Linked DNA regions of Homo sapiens: regions 2 and 3 are each linked to region 1. Evidence: promoter capture Hi-C in human tissues and cell types (Jung and others, 2019). All regions are on one chromosome and are shown on one strand. The core of a region is centred on a gene start or on the middle of the fragment in contact, and the rest is flanking DNA. Distances in the headings are between cores, read along the strand shown. Region 1 holds the start of LRRC9 (leucine rich repeat containing 9). Region 2 overlaps RTN1 (reticulon 1). Region 3 has its middle 34 kb from the start of DHRS7.

Region 1 (4,327 bases), core at 1,359-3,858:
AAGGTCTCTCTCTCAGTAGATGATCTTGACCCCATTTTCACAGAGAACAGTGGTGCCATCAAATGTATGTTTCTTATTTCCCTCCTCTCAAAGACGTATTTTTCTTTCCCTTCTGACTCCTGTCTTAGTAGGTGTTCTTCCTTTTGTCCAAAACAAATCCCTTTTCCTATGTATTGATCCTATCCTTATCTGTCTCTTTCAGAATACTGCTGTCAAATTTTCCTCTTTCATTTATTGCCAAATTTCCTTGTCAACGGTCTCCTTTATTTCTGTATATAAATATTAAGTCTTTCCTATCTTAAAAAGTCTCTCCTATATTCTTCTATGAATAGCTGTTTTTAGATACCTTTATGGTACACCTTTTAGATAATCATTAGCAACACATCACTACCTGCTTTCAGTCCTGGATTCACTGCCATCTGGACTGAGAACACCTCAAGCCACTACAAGGTCAAAAATAACCTTCTAATGGCCAAAGACAGCGGACATGTTTTGATTCTCAACTTGACCTTGACATGGCATTTGACAATGCTGACGACTCTCTTCTTCACGTTTTCTTCTTTGGTTCAACTTTTCTCCTTGGCTTCTCTCTACTTGTTATTTCAAACTTACTTTGTGCTTTTCTTCTTTTCTTTTTTCTTTCTTATTTATTTATTTATTTTTTTTTTGAGACAGAATCTCACTTTGCTGCCCAGGCTTGACTGCAGTGGCACAATCTGGGCTCACTCCAACCTCTGCCTCCCAGGTTCAAGTAATTCTTCTGCCTCAGCCTCCCAAGTAGCTGGCACTACAGGCGCGTGCCATCACACCCGGCTAATTTTTGTATTTTTAGTAGAGACAGGGTTTCACCATATTGGCCAGGCTAATCTCGAACTCCTGACCTTGTGATCCACCCGCCTCGGCTTCCCAAAGTGCTGGGATTACAGGCATGAGCCACCGTGCCTGGCCTACTTTGTGCTTTTCAAACCAATTGTTTTCTTCATGGTGAAAAATCCTTATCTTCTTTTCTGTGCAAAAAAAAAAAAAAAAAAAAATCCAACTGCCCACATGAAAAAGCTCCATCTGAATGTGCCACAGGCATCTCAAATTCAGTGTGTTCAAAATTGAACTCATTATATTTTCCAACCAGCCTCCTTCTCCTAATGTATGCCTTCTCTTGAAAAGTAACACCACCATTCTTCTATTGGTTGAGCTATTATCCTCAACCAATCTTTGACTCTATCCCCCTATTTTCATTCACTCATTAAATCCTTCTGCATATACCTCTTAAAGGTCTTACCACATTTTTTTTCCTCCTCCTCATTCCAATTGCCTCTGCCTTGGTTCAGGCCCTCATCACCTCCCCTTAACTTGATGTCCTCCCTGTAGTCTGTCTTCCCTCAAGTTCATCCTCTACACTACTGTGACAGCCTCCTGAAAGGTAAATCTGCTCATGCTTTACCCCTTTGGAAGGTATTAATGGTTTCCATGCTCTGACTCCTGCCTACCTCACATGCTCATCAGCCACAACCTCCACAGAGGACCCTAGGTTCAGGCCACAACTATAGTTCTCTGGAACTGAATGGATGTTTCTGTACTTTGGCATGGGCTGTTTCCTCTCCCTAAAATGTCCTTTTCCCTTGGCTGTATGGCATACTCCATACTTCCCTAAAGATTTAAATCAAAGATCTTCTCTTTGAAGACTTTCATTCTCTCTGGTAGTATTATAAGCATTCTCTTTCTTGTGATTCTGGTTAGGGCTTGCACATACTCTTTGTATAGCACTTGTCACACTGTAAAACAATGTTTACGGGCCTTTCTTCCCTACTAGGTTACATGTTCATTGAAGGCAGAAACTGTGAACCTATCACAGGTTCACTGTCTGGCACATGCTAGTTGTTAAAAAAATTGTTTAATGGGTTAATTGTCATGCCACAGGCATATGGTATAATTTAAAGACATAATCGTTCTCCATGACCAGAGTATAATGATAGAGTAAAAAGGACCATGGTTTCTGTCTGCCGTGAGAGTTGGTTAGGATGTCATTCTGAGAAAACTTTTTTTTTCTCTGCCCAGTAGAAGTCCTGTATGGGTCAAATTATTTCCTCCTTTGGGTATAAAAGGATCAGAATCCATCAGTTACCACTGATGGTCCAAATAAACCCCCTACACTCTCTAGATGAGCAGTGTCAGGTTTGGTTAGGGAGCACTTGGTTTTTCCAGCCCAGAATCTTAATTGGTGCAGTAAAATCTGCATAGTTGGCTGTAGGCCACCCTCCCTTTCCTTCTCTTGAACTTTGTTCTGGTACCCTGACTGCCTCAGTAAAGCCACCTCACTGTCTTTCATCATTATCATCACCATTGCACCATTACGGAGTTCCCTTGACCTCAACTTTGCTTCACTGGCGTCTTCCCCTTGGTATGGCTTGGAAGGAAAAAGAGGGGATCAAAGACTCCCGGTGATGTACGCCCGAAGGCCACCAGGTGACGGATTCTGACCTTATCACAGAGAGAGGGTGGATTCCGGGGCAATCCGATTCAAGTCCGAGTCCACTCCGATTTCCCAATCCCTGTCTTGCAGCAGAAGGTAGGAAACCCTCTCCCGCCCCAGGCCTGGTGTGTACAGACTGCCTGTGGCGGTTGCCTAGGTAACCTGATCTCCGCCTCCGGCGACCTCCGGGTGGGGAGGAGGAGAAAAGGGGCGGGGAGGGGGATAAAAGGGTGGGGGGGAAGCGGAGGCCGACCCGGGTTTGCATCACGTGGTGGCGACCTCCAACCAATCAGCGGAAGCAGGGGTCCAACCGGAAGACCCCACCTGGGGCTCCTGGGAAACGGCGGGAGCTTCTCGCTGGCAGGTTTTTCTGTACCTGCGCTTATCTTTTCACTTACCTTCGCCAGTTCGCGGAACGTGACTGAAAGCAACGCGTTATGGGCAAGGTGGTGGGGACTTATTCGTTACCTCCTCCAGTCTCGCTCTCTCCCATTCATTATCTTTAGCTCTCGGGTCCTGGAAGCGCGGAGCCTCTCTGGCCTTGAGCCCCGAGGGCATGGCCCTGTGATGTCACAAGGTGGCGTGACAGCCGGGACGAACCCCGACCCCCAGCGCGGCATCCTTCCCGCGGCCAGCGACCACCGCCTCCCGGGAAGGTGGCTGACCACAGCCGCAAGCCGCTGCGCGCCCGGCAAGCCGAATGGAAGGACGGCGCGGGCAAACGAACGCCCAGTGAGGTCCAGAGAAGAGAGGGACCTTCCGAGGGTCTTCTAGTCGATCTCGGACAGGCTTTTGAGTGCCTTTTAAGCATTCCAAAATTTTCAGGAGACAACAGTAATTTACAAAATAGAGTAGAATTAAAAGGGGGGAAAGGGGAGACTTTTCAGAGTGGGCAGAGAGGCTGAGAAATGAACTTAGTAAAAGGCAAACCAAAGCAACCGCAGGTCTCGTGTCGTTCTCTGGATCTGCGCAGTCCAGCAGGGTGAGCCGCTACCCACAGACTCGCAGGGCCCATGATCGCTTGAAATGTGGCTTGTCCAAATTGACATGTGCTGTAAGGTACGCATTGTATTTTGAAGGCTTAGTATGAAAAAAATAAACTCTTTCGTTATTAATCTTCATATTGATTAAATGTTGAAATAATATTTTTGATACATTGGGTTAAATAAAAAATATTGTTAAAATTATTGTTTCTATTTTGAAAATGCGGCTGTTAGATAAATTTTAAATTGCATGTATGACTTGAATTATGTTTCTTTTGGACTGTGCTCTCTTTTATGTGGTTCAGTCGGTTTGTGTAGAATAGTTGTGATGTTAATGCAAAATATTGTCTGTAGTGCTTCTTTCTGTCACCAGATGGCCACCTCATTAAATAGACTATAGTTTTGAACTGCTTTCCCAAGAAAAAGTTCAGATTTTAGGAATATTCTCATTTAACAATTGTCAACAATTTCAGCATATTTGCCTTTATTCAATTAACTTTATCTGTAATATAGACCGTTTGTAAAGATACATAAACAAAAATTAACTGGTTTTCCCTCTACATTCTTATTTCACAGAAAATTGTTTCTATCTGTCATTAATAGATAATTCGAAATAAGCTAATTAAAGTTATTTGTGGCTTAGGGGTTTCAAACTAATGCCAGAAAAGTCAGATTCATAGTTTTTACTTTTACTATTATCTTCTCTGAAATGTAGTTGAACAAGGTGACCTGTCTTTGGGGAAGTTTTCTTCATAGAGTATAAAGATGAATTAGAACATAATAGTTGAGATTTCTACACTTCTAGACATAGAAATTTGAACAGAAACCAGTTCAGCGAATTATCTACACTAAGTTTCTTAATTTGAGGGGTCCA
Region 2 (4,327 bases), core at 1,016-3,515, 300 kb after region 1:
AGGGGATGTAGTGGGAATGGGAGTGAACCCCAAGGTGAGAAGAGTGGAACTGCTTTGCAACTGTCTGAGCGTACTCATGCAGGCCTGGCTGGGCTTTCAAGGTTTGCATGGCAGAAACAGTACTCTTATTTATAGTTTTACTACAGTGTTTAAGTGAACAGCCTACTATAAGGTAAATAATGAGGGCTAGGATTAGGAGTACAATTACCAGTTTTAAAAGCAAAGATTTGCTTCTAACCCTCAAAGAATTTAGAATTTAGTTTAAACTGCAGAAAAAACCTCAAGAACAGCTAACAACAGTGTAGTATAGTTTTTCTTTTGAATCATAATTTTTCTCTCTCCAGTCATCATTTTTATTAAAAACAAATCAAGAAATGGTTTGTTTATAAAATGAATTTTACTCTTACTGTACTTGGCCTGATTATTTGCATAAAGTACAGCAAGAGTAATTATTTTTCATGTAAGCTTTTTCAATTGGCTTTGATAGAACTCTGTTCTGTTAAGAACTTTAGATAATACTTTTTAAAAGCTGAGCCCAGCAATGGGTTTATACCCTTTAATACCTATGAGGTGGGAAAATTCCTCTTCTCTTGAGGTCCCAAAATAACTTGGGGTTCCTGGCCCTGTTATAAAGTGACATTCTTTACTTACCACAGGTCAGGAACCTTGTACAGGGACTTTGTGAACAAGGTATGAGAACAGATTCCCCAACGGGCTTTAATTGGCTTTATAAGTCAACTTTGATTCTTTAAAGGAAGCGTGCCATTTCACTTAAAGCCTTGGTAAAATAACCAGTTTCTCCAAATGTGTCCTGTTAGAAAAGAAAACAGATTGTTATTACACTTATGCAATTAACTATACTTCCATAAATTGAGAATATTAACAAATAGTTTTCAAATTCTGGAGAAATTAGGTAGAGAGGAACAAATGTGCTCCAAATTTTGTTTATAGGAGTATATTTTACTCACTTGTTAGAAGTTGCAAATAGCTCTAAAGAAATAAGTCCTCCTGACTCTGAAAGAAAAGGTTTAGCAATGTTTAACACATTAGCTTTCCATGAGAGCCCTAAAAGTTTGTTCTTTTCCTCTCTTTCAATAGCACAATTTTTAAAGTTATTTGAGACCTGCACTTAAGAGTCGTATATCTGATTATAAACTGCCTTTTGAAAAGGACCAAAGCAAGACAAAATGTCTGTGGATGACAAAAGGCTATAGCCACTATTAAAGCTACAATTATGTAGCAGTTTTGTTTACTTTTGTGGCATACAACAATTTTACATAACAATTATAATTATTAATAATGTACACTAAATTGTATCAACATTATAGAAGTTTCCCATAATTTTGGAACACATACTAATAACATTTATATAAATAAAGTCCAAAGTAAACCAAATGCCACTTAGTCTTCTATTTGAAACATTTTCCTCTATTTTAATGTCACAATTTTCAGCATTATTAATTAGAATCCTGCATTTAAGAGCACCTGTTAAATTTGATAGCTGAGTATGAAACAATTTTCACCAAAATGAGACAATTGTCTGTGGATGATAAAAATATTTTAAGGCAGCCACAGTTAAAGACACAATTGACAAGAAAATTTGTTACCTCTGTGGCACACAGTCTGTTAACATAATAATTATGATGATTACTGATAACATATACTAAGTTATATTAGAATAACAGGAGTTTTGCATAATTTCAGAGCATATACCAATAACGCATTTACACAAATATAGACCAAAGAAAGCCAAACACCATTTCATATTTGACAATGCTTTCTGTATGATTTTTGTACCAAATAAGCCAAATGTTATTTTTGGACTTTAGAGGACCTAATATCTAAAATATTAGGTAAAAAAGAGACATAATTTATAATTTGATGTTGGAAAGTTTGTTAAATATCAAAGGTTTAAAATACTGGTTATCACAAAATAGAATCCTAGGTTACCATACGTAATTCATTTGGCCAAAATGATAACTCCAAAAAAAATTTTAAAAAAGAAAAACCTTTACTCTAATAGAGGAGACTTAGCTTTCCAAACAAGATGCAATGAAGATAGCATGAGGCCAAATAAATCTATCTCTTTTCTTTCTTTCCTCCTTTTTTTCCCTGCCATTTACCCAAAGAAGAAAATAAGACCTTTTTATTATCTTTTAACATTACATAAAAATCATCTTTAAAAGAGAAAAACATATTTCATGTTTGCATTCGTGCATTGTTAATGTTAAAGCTAGTGTTTTTAAATAAAATTTTGTATCTTTATTCAGTTTTAATTAGTTTGACCATAGGGTAAGATTTTCACAAACCCTTTAGAACCCTTTACAATTTTCCATTAAACAGCAGATCAATTTTCTAAGAAAGCCCTGTTATTCAGACACATGGGCCCAGATTCAGGCCCCACATCAGTATGATTTTGATGTTTGTTGTTGTTGTTGTTTTGTTTTTTTTTAGATGGAGTTTCACTCTTGTTGTCCAGGCTGGAGTGCAATGGCATGATCTCTGTTCATCGCAACCTCCACCTCCCAGGTTCAAGTGATTCTCCTGCGTCAGCCTCCCGAGTAGCTGGGATTACAGGCATGCGCTACCATACCCAGCTAATTTTGCATTTTTAGTAGAGACAGGGTTTCTCCACGTTGGTCAGGCTGGTCTCGAACTCCTGACCTCAGGTGATCCACCACCCTCAGCCTCCCAAAGTGCTGGGATTACAGGCATGAGCCGCCATGCCCAGCCGCTTTTAATGTTTTAACCTAAGGAAAAAAGCTAAATAATTTCTTTTAAATATTAGCCAACTGGTTTATACCCACAGAATTTTTACAAGATTAACCCTTTCACTTTGCTTAAGCCTTCAGTTTTGTTCTGTTACTCTTTTAGGTTAAGACAATTTTTAAAACCCTCAGAACTAGCCAAAATTACATTCCCTTTAACAAAAGCTATATTCCCATGCCTTCTTATAATCTTTTACCAAAAACACATTCCCTACATACCTTGTATGTAAAACTGCTTCTTCAGTGGTCTCAACTACATATTACAATGTTAACTGTTAGAAACTTTTATTTTTAGTGAAAAACCTGATAAGTAAGAGATTTTAATTATCTACTAAGGGTGGAGCCTAGGACATCGGACAGAAATGAAGATCTGACTCATTTTAGCATAGCTAGTGGACTTGGCTTTCCGTATGTCCCCAGGCCTTATCTATAATCTGCTCCAAAGTAGGTAAATCGAACAATTTTCAAAAGTCAAAGAAACAGCTTGACCTTAAAGCATTTAGCAAATTTGATATTTGACCTTAATTTAGACCAAATGTCTACATTTTCAAGACATTTTATTTTACCAATAATCTTTAAAACTGTCTTTATTTCCCAAAGATTCCTAAAGTCACGTGAACAAAACGGCATTAAAGTTTCTATTTTTCTGACAAAATATTTGATTTAAGCACTTATGTTTCTAAGCCAATTAGAGTTTTTTTATATGTAAACATACAACACATATAAATACACAGACAGGAGATTTAGCACTTGTGAAATTTTTCATTTGCCAGTTTCTTAATTGGATGACTGGCTTCAGGGTGGAGCCCTTGGAGGAGCAGGGCCAGGAAAACATGAATTTCTAGGGCCAAATAAGCAGCTGAAGGCAAAGACAGATCCCCAAAATTAAGGGTACCATTTTATACCGGATCCCGGATCCCCAAAAGGAGGAAAATACTCAGGAGAAGATAGTGCAATGCTTCTACCCTGCATTTTATTGCAAGGTAACCCAAAGCCAATCAGCCCATTTTGTAATCAGCCCATCTCTCCTGGGAGTCTCATCTCCCAGTGGGGGTAGTGGGGGCGTTTTCTTGTCTTCCAAGTAGCCAAGAGCATGCTTCTCCTATCCAAGTGTGCAAAGAATTAAGTATCCCTCCATAACTACTATTAGCCATCCCTTATATTTCCTACCTAATTATCATAATACGAAGTAATTTCTGATACCCCCAAAACTCAAAACCATCAGATAACAGTATGCAAAACAGAACAGATCCTTTAATTTTGAGAGGGATTTATCTGCTTTTAAATTCCTGGGGTTTTATAAGGAAATCAGAGGGTTTTTTTTTTCCAAAACAGGGTATGTGGTGCCTCCTCTGTTTTTCCCAATGAATCTCAGGCTACCAGAAGTTATCTTAGGGCCTCTCATGAGTGCTTTAAGAAGGACAAGGCAAAAAAATGGAGAAAAATAATACAGTCGACTGAGAAGAAAAATCCTTTTTCCAGAAAAACAAGTTCCAAGAAGAGAAAAACATAAAGGCCTTTTAAATATATCTATAGGCCGGGCGCGGTGGCTCACACCT
Region 3 (4,327 bases), core at 724-3,223, 280 kb before region 1:
TATTTTGGATAAAAGCCACCTTTTAACTGGGGCGAGATGATACCTCATTGTAGTTTTGATTTACATTTCTCTGATGATCAATAATGTTGAGCATTTTTCATATACCTGTTTGCCATTTGTATGCCTTCTTTTGAGAAATGTCTTTTCGAGCTTTTGCGTATTTTTATCACTTTTAGATTATTACAACATTTTTTCCTATTGAGGTGTTTGAACTCCTTACATAATCTGGGTATTAATCCTTTGCGAAATGAAGGGATAAATATTTGTTTGCAGATATTTCATCCCATTCTGTGGGTTGTCTCTTTGTTGATTGTTTTCTTTGCTATGCAAAAGCTTTTTAACTTGATGTGATCCCATTTGTCCATTTTTGCTTTGGTTGCCTGGGCTGGTGGGATATTACTCAAGAAATCTTTGCCAAGACCAATGTCCTGGAGAGTTTCCCTGAAATTCTCTTTTAGTAGTTTCATAGCTTGAGGTTTTAGATTTGTCTTTAATCCATTTTGATTTGATTTTTGTATATGACAAGAGACAGGAGTCTATTTTCCTTCTTCTGCATAAGGATATCCAGTTTCCCAGCACCATTTATTTATTTTTAGTAGAGGCAGGGTTTCACCATGTTGGCCAGGCTGGTCACAAACTCCTGACCTCAGGTGATCCTCCCGCCTTGGCCTCCCAAAGTGCTGGGATTACAGGCGTAAGCCACCATGCCCAGCCTAGATGATTTCTTACTGCTCATTAACATCCTCTTCTTTCAGATTGAAGAACTGTTAGCATTTCTTATAGGATAGGTCTAGTGTTCATGAAATCCCTCAGCTTTTGTTTGTCTCAGAAAGTCTTTATTTCTCCTTCATGTTCAAAGAATACTTTTACTGGATATACTATTCTAAAATAAAATATTTTTCCCTTGAGAACTTTAAATTTGTCATGCCATGCCATTCTCTCCTGGCCTGTAGGGTTCCCACTGAGAAGTCTGCTGTCACACATATTGGAGCTCCTTTGTATGTTATTGTTTCTTTTCTCTTGCTGTTTTTGGGATTCTTTCTTTATTGTTGGCTTTTGGGAGTTTGATTATTAAATGTCTTGAGGTAGTCTTATTTGGGTCAAATCTTCTTGGTGTTCTATAACATTATTGTACTTGAATATTGATATATTTCCCTAGGTTTGGAAAGTTCTCTGTTACTATCCTTTTGTATGGACTTTCTACCCCTTTCTCTCTCTCTACCTCCCCTTTCAAGCCAATAACTCTTAGATTTGCCCTTTTGAGGCTATTTTCTAGATCTCGTAAGCACGCTTCATTCTCTGTTATTCCTTTTTCTTTTGTCTCCTCTGACTGTGTATTTTGTTTCTTTTTTTTTTCCTTTAAACTTATTTTTGAGATGAGATCTTGCTCTGCCACCTAGGATAGAGAGCAATGGTACAATCATAGCTCACTGTAACCTCAAACTCCTAGACCCAAATGATCCTCCCACTTCAGCCTCCCAAGTAGCTAGAACTATGAGCATGTGTTGCAATACTCAGATAATTTTTAAATGTTTTTGTAAAGGTGGGGCCTCACTATGCTGCCCAGGCTGATCTCAAACTTCTGGCCTCAAGCAATACTCTTGCCTTGGCCTCCCAAAGAATTGGGATTACAGGCATGAGCCACTGTGCCTGGCCTGACTGTGTATTTTCAAGTACCCCATCTTCCAGTTCACCAATTATTTCTTCAGTTTGATCAATTCTGTTGAGAGACTCTGATGTATTCTTCAATATGTCAATTGCATTTTTTAGCTCCAGAATTTCTGCCTGACCTTTAAATTTCATTTCAATGTCTTTGTTAAATGTATGTGATAGGATTCTGAATTCCTTCTCTGTGTTATTTTGAATTTTTTGAGCTCCCTCAAAACAGCTATTTTGAATTCTCTATCTGAAAGATCACATATCTCTGTCACTCTAGGATTGGTCATTGGTGCCTTATTTAGTTCATCTGGTGAGGTCATGTCTTCCTGGATGGTCTTTATGCTTCTTGATGTTTGTCAATGTTTGGGCATTGAGAAGTTAGGCATTTATTATAGTCTTCACAGTCTGGGCTTGATCGTACCTGTTCTTGGAAAGGCTCTCCAAGTATTCAAAGGGAATTGACTACTGTGATGTAAGTCTTTGGTCACTGCAACTGTATCTGCATTAGGGGCCCCCACCAAGCCCAGTAAAGTTGTGACTCTTGCAGTGTTATAGAGGTACTGCCTTGGTGGTCTTGGGTTAGAGCTGAGAGAATTCCCCAGATTACTAGGCAGAGACTCTTGCTCTTTTCCCTTACTTTCCCCCAAACAAATGGAGTCTCTCTCTGTGTCTGTGCTGAGCTTCCTGGAGCTAGGAGAGGGGTGACACAAGCCCCCTGTGACCACTGCCACTGGGACCATATTGGGTCAGATCTGAAGCCAGCATAGCACTAGGTCTTACCCAACACCTGCAGCATCCACTGCCTGGCTGCTGCCGATGTTCACTCAGGGCTTACGAGCTCTTCAATCAGCAGGTGGTGAGTCCAGCCAGGTATGTGTCCTTGCTTTCAGGTCAGTGAGCACCCACCCTCTAGCCTAGGGTGGGCCCAGACATGCCATTTAGGAGCCACGGCATGGAGCCAGGAACCTTGGAATTTACTTGGTGCTTTATCCTATCGCAGCCAAACTGGCATCTAAGCCATAAGACAAAGTCTTTCACATGCCTTCCTCTCCTTTCTTCAACCAGAAGGTGCCTCTGATGAGTACTGCCTGGCTACCATCAATATTCACTCAAGGCCCAAGGGCTCTTTGGTCAGCTTGTGATGAATGCTGCCAGCCGGGGTCTCTTACTTCAGGGCATTGGGCCACCCTCTGGCCCAAGGCAGGTGCGGAAATGCCGTCCAGGAGCCAAGGCCTAGAATCTGGGACCCCAGGAGCCTGCCTGGTGCTCTAGTCCAGTGTGGTCAAGCTGGTACCCAAGCTGCTAGACAAAGTGCCCTTTGTTATTTCCTCTCCTTTTCTCAGGCAGAATGGGTCTGTCCCTGTGACCACCACACATGGGAATGTGATGGGTCACACTCGAAGCCAGCACAGCTCTGAGTCCCACCCAAGGCCTATGGTGAGAACTGCCTGGGTGCCACTGCTTATTATTCAGGGCCCAAGGGCTGTTTAGTTAGCAGGTGACTCATCCTGCCAGAACTGGGTCCTTCCCTTCAAAATAGCAGGTTCCCTTTTGGCCCAGAATGTGTCTAGAATTGTCATCCAAGAGCTAGAGCCTACAGTGGAGGCATCAGGACTCTTTCTGGTGCCCTATTCTTCTGTGGCTGAGCTGGTATCCAAGTTGCAAGACAAAGTCCTCTTTACTCCTTCTTCTCCTCACACAGAAGGAAGTAGTCCTTCCTGGATTTGCAAGCTGCAGTGCCTGGGGTTGGGGGAAGGGTGGTGTGAGCACTCCCTTGGCCACCCTGGCTGCTGTCTCACTAGGTTATATGCACCCCCAGACCACTGACTTCAAGCCCAGCACAGCAACAGGACTTGCCCAGAAATTGTAGCCCTTGTGACACAGATGGCCTTTCAAGTTGATTTAGGACCTCAGAGCACTTTAATCCATGGTGGCAGAGCTTGCTGGAACTCAGATTCCAACTGTTGGGATGGGCAATTCTCCTCTGGCTAAGGCTGGTCTGAATGCTTTCTACATGGGCTCCAGGTGAATTCTGCCTCGTGTTGCTTTCCTCTGTGACAGAGCAGCACTGGGTTCCAATGCAAAATCCCACAGTCACTTTGTCCTCCCTCCCCCAAATGCACAGATTCTCTCTCAGCACTATGTAGCCGCTGCTGAGGATTGGGGAGGGGTGGTATTGATAATTCAAGACTGTCTTTCATGCCCTCTTCAGTGCCTCTTTCCTTGATATGGTGTTAAAAGTAGGTACTGTGATTATTGACCTGATTTTTGGTTCTTATGAAGGTGCTTTCTTCTGTGGATAGTTATTCAATTTGGTGTTCCTGCTGGGGGGATGATTACTGGAATGTTCTCTCTGACCATCTTACTCTGCCTCTCTCCTCTCTTTTGCCCCACTTTCCAACTCTGGTTCTTAACTCTGGAAACCACTAGTCTGTTCTTCATTTCTGAAATTTTATGTTAAATATGTGCTTAAATTTGTTAAATAATTTTAAATATTGAATGTTAAATAAAAGAATATTAAATGCTCAAAATGTTAAAATATGTTAAATCTTAACATTGAACTGTTGTTAAAGAAATACAGTAGAATCATATAGTATGTAACTGTTTAGGATTGACTTTTTCCCCCACTCATCATAATTCCCTGGAGATTCATCCACATTATTGCACG

What was found. Contacts are between HindIII fragments. The study calls those that stand out against the background at their distance.
Region 2: a fragment that was not itself captured here is called in contact with the fragment with the promoter of LRRC9 in region 1 in 1 of the 25 tissues and cell types used here (aorta).
Region 3: a fragment that was not itself captured here is called in contact with the fragment with the promoter of LRRC9 in region 1 in 1 of the 25 tissues and cell types used here (hippocampus).

Annotation. Positions count from the first base shown.
Region 1 is chr14:59,918,425-59,922,751 of GRCh38, reverse strand. LRRC9 (leucine rich repeat containing 9) reads right to left here and starts at 2,608. Exons shown (of 33, transcript NM_001395648.1): 1 at 2,479-2,608. RefSeq lists an enhancer at 2,249-3,448. The HindIII fragment of the contact is 18,773 bases long and covers 1-4,327 here.
Region 2 is chr14:59,613,574-59,617,900 of GRCh38, reverse strand. All of the region lies in intron 3 of RTN1 (reticulon 1), which reads left to right. Among named protein-coding and RNA genes, the nearest start is that of MIR5586, 31 kb to the left of the region's middle. The HindIII fragment of the contact is 5,580 bases long and covers 1-4,327 here.
Region 3 is chr14:60,196,894-60,201,220 of GRCh38, reverse strand. No RefSeq gene overlaps it. Among named protein-coding and RNA genes, the nearest start is that of DHRS7, 34 kb to the right of the region's middle. The HindIII fragment of the contact is 7,748 bases long and covers 1-4,327 here.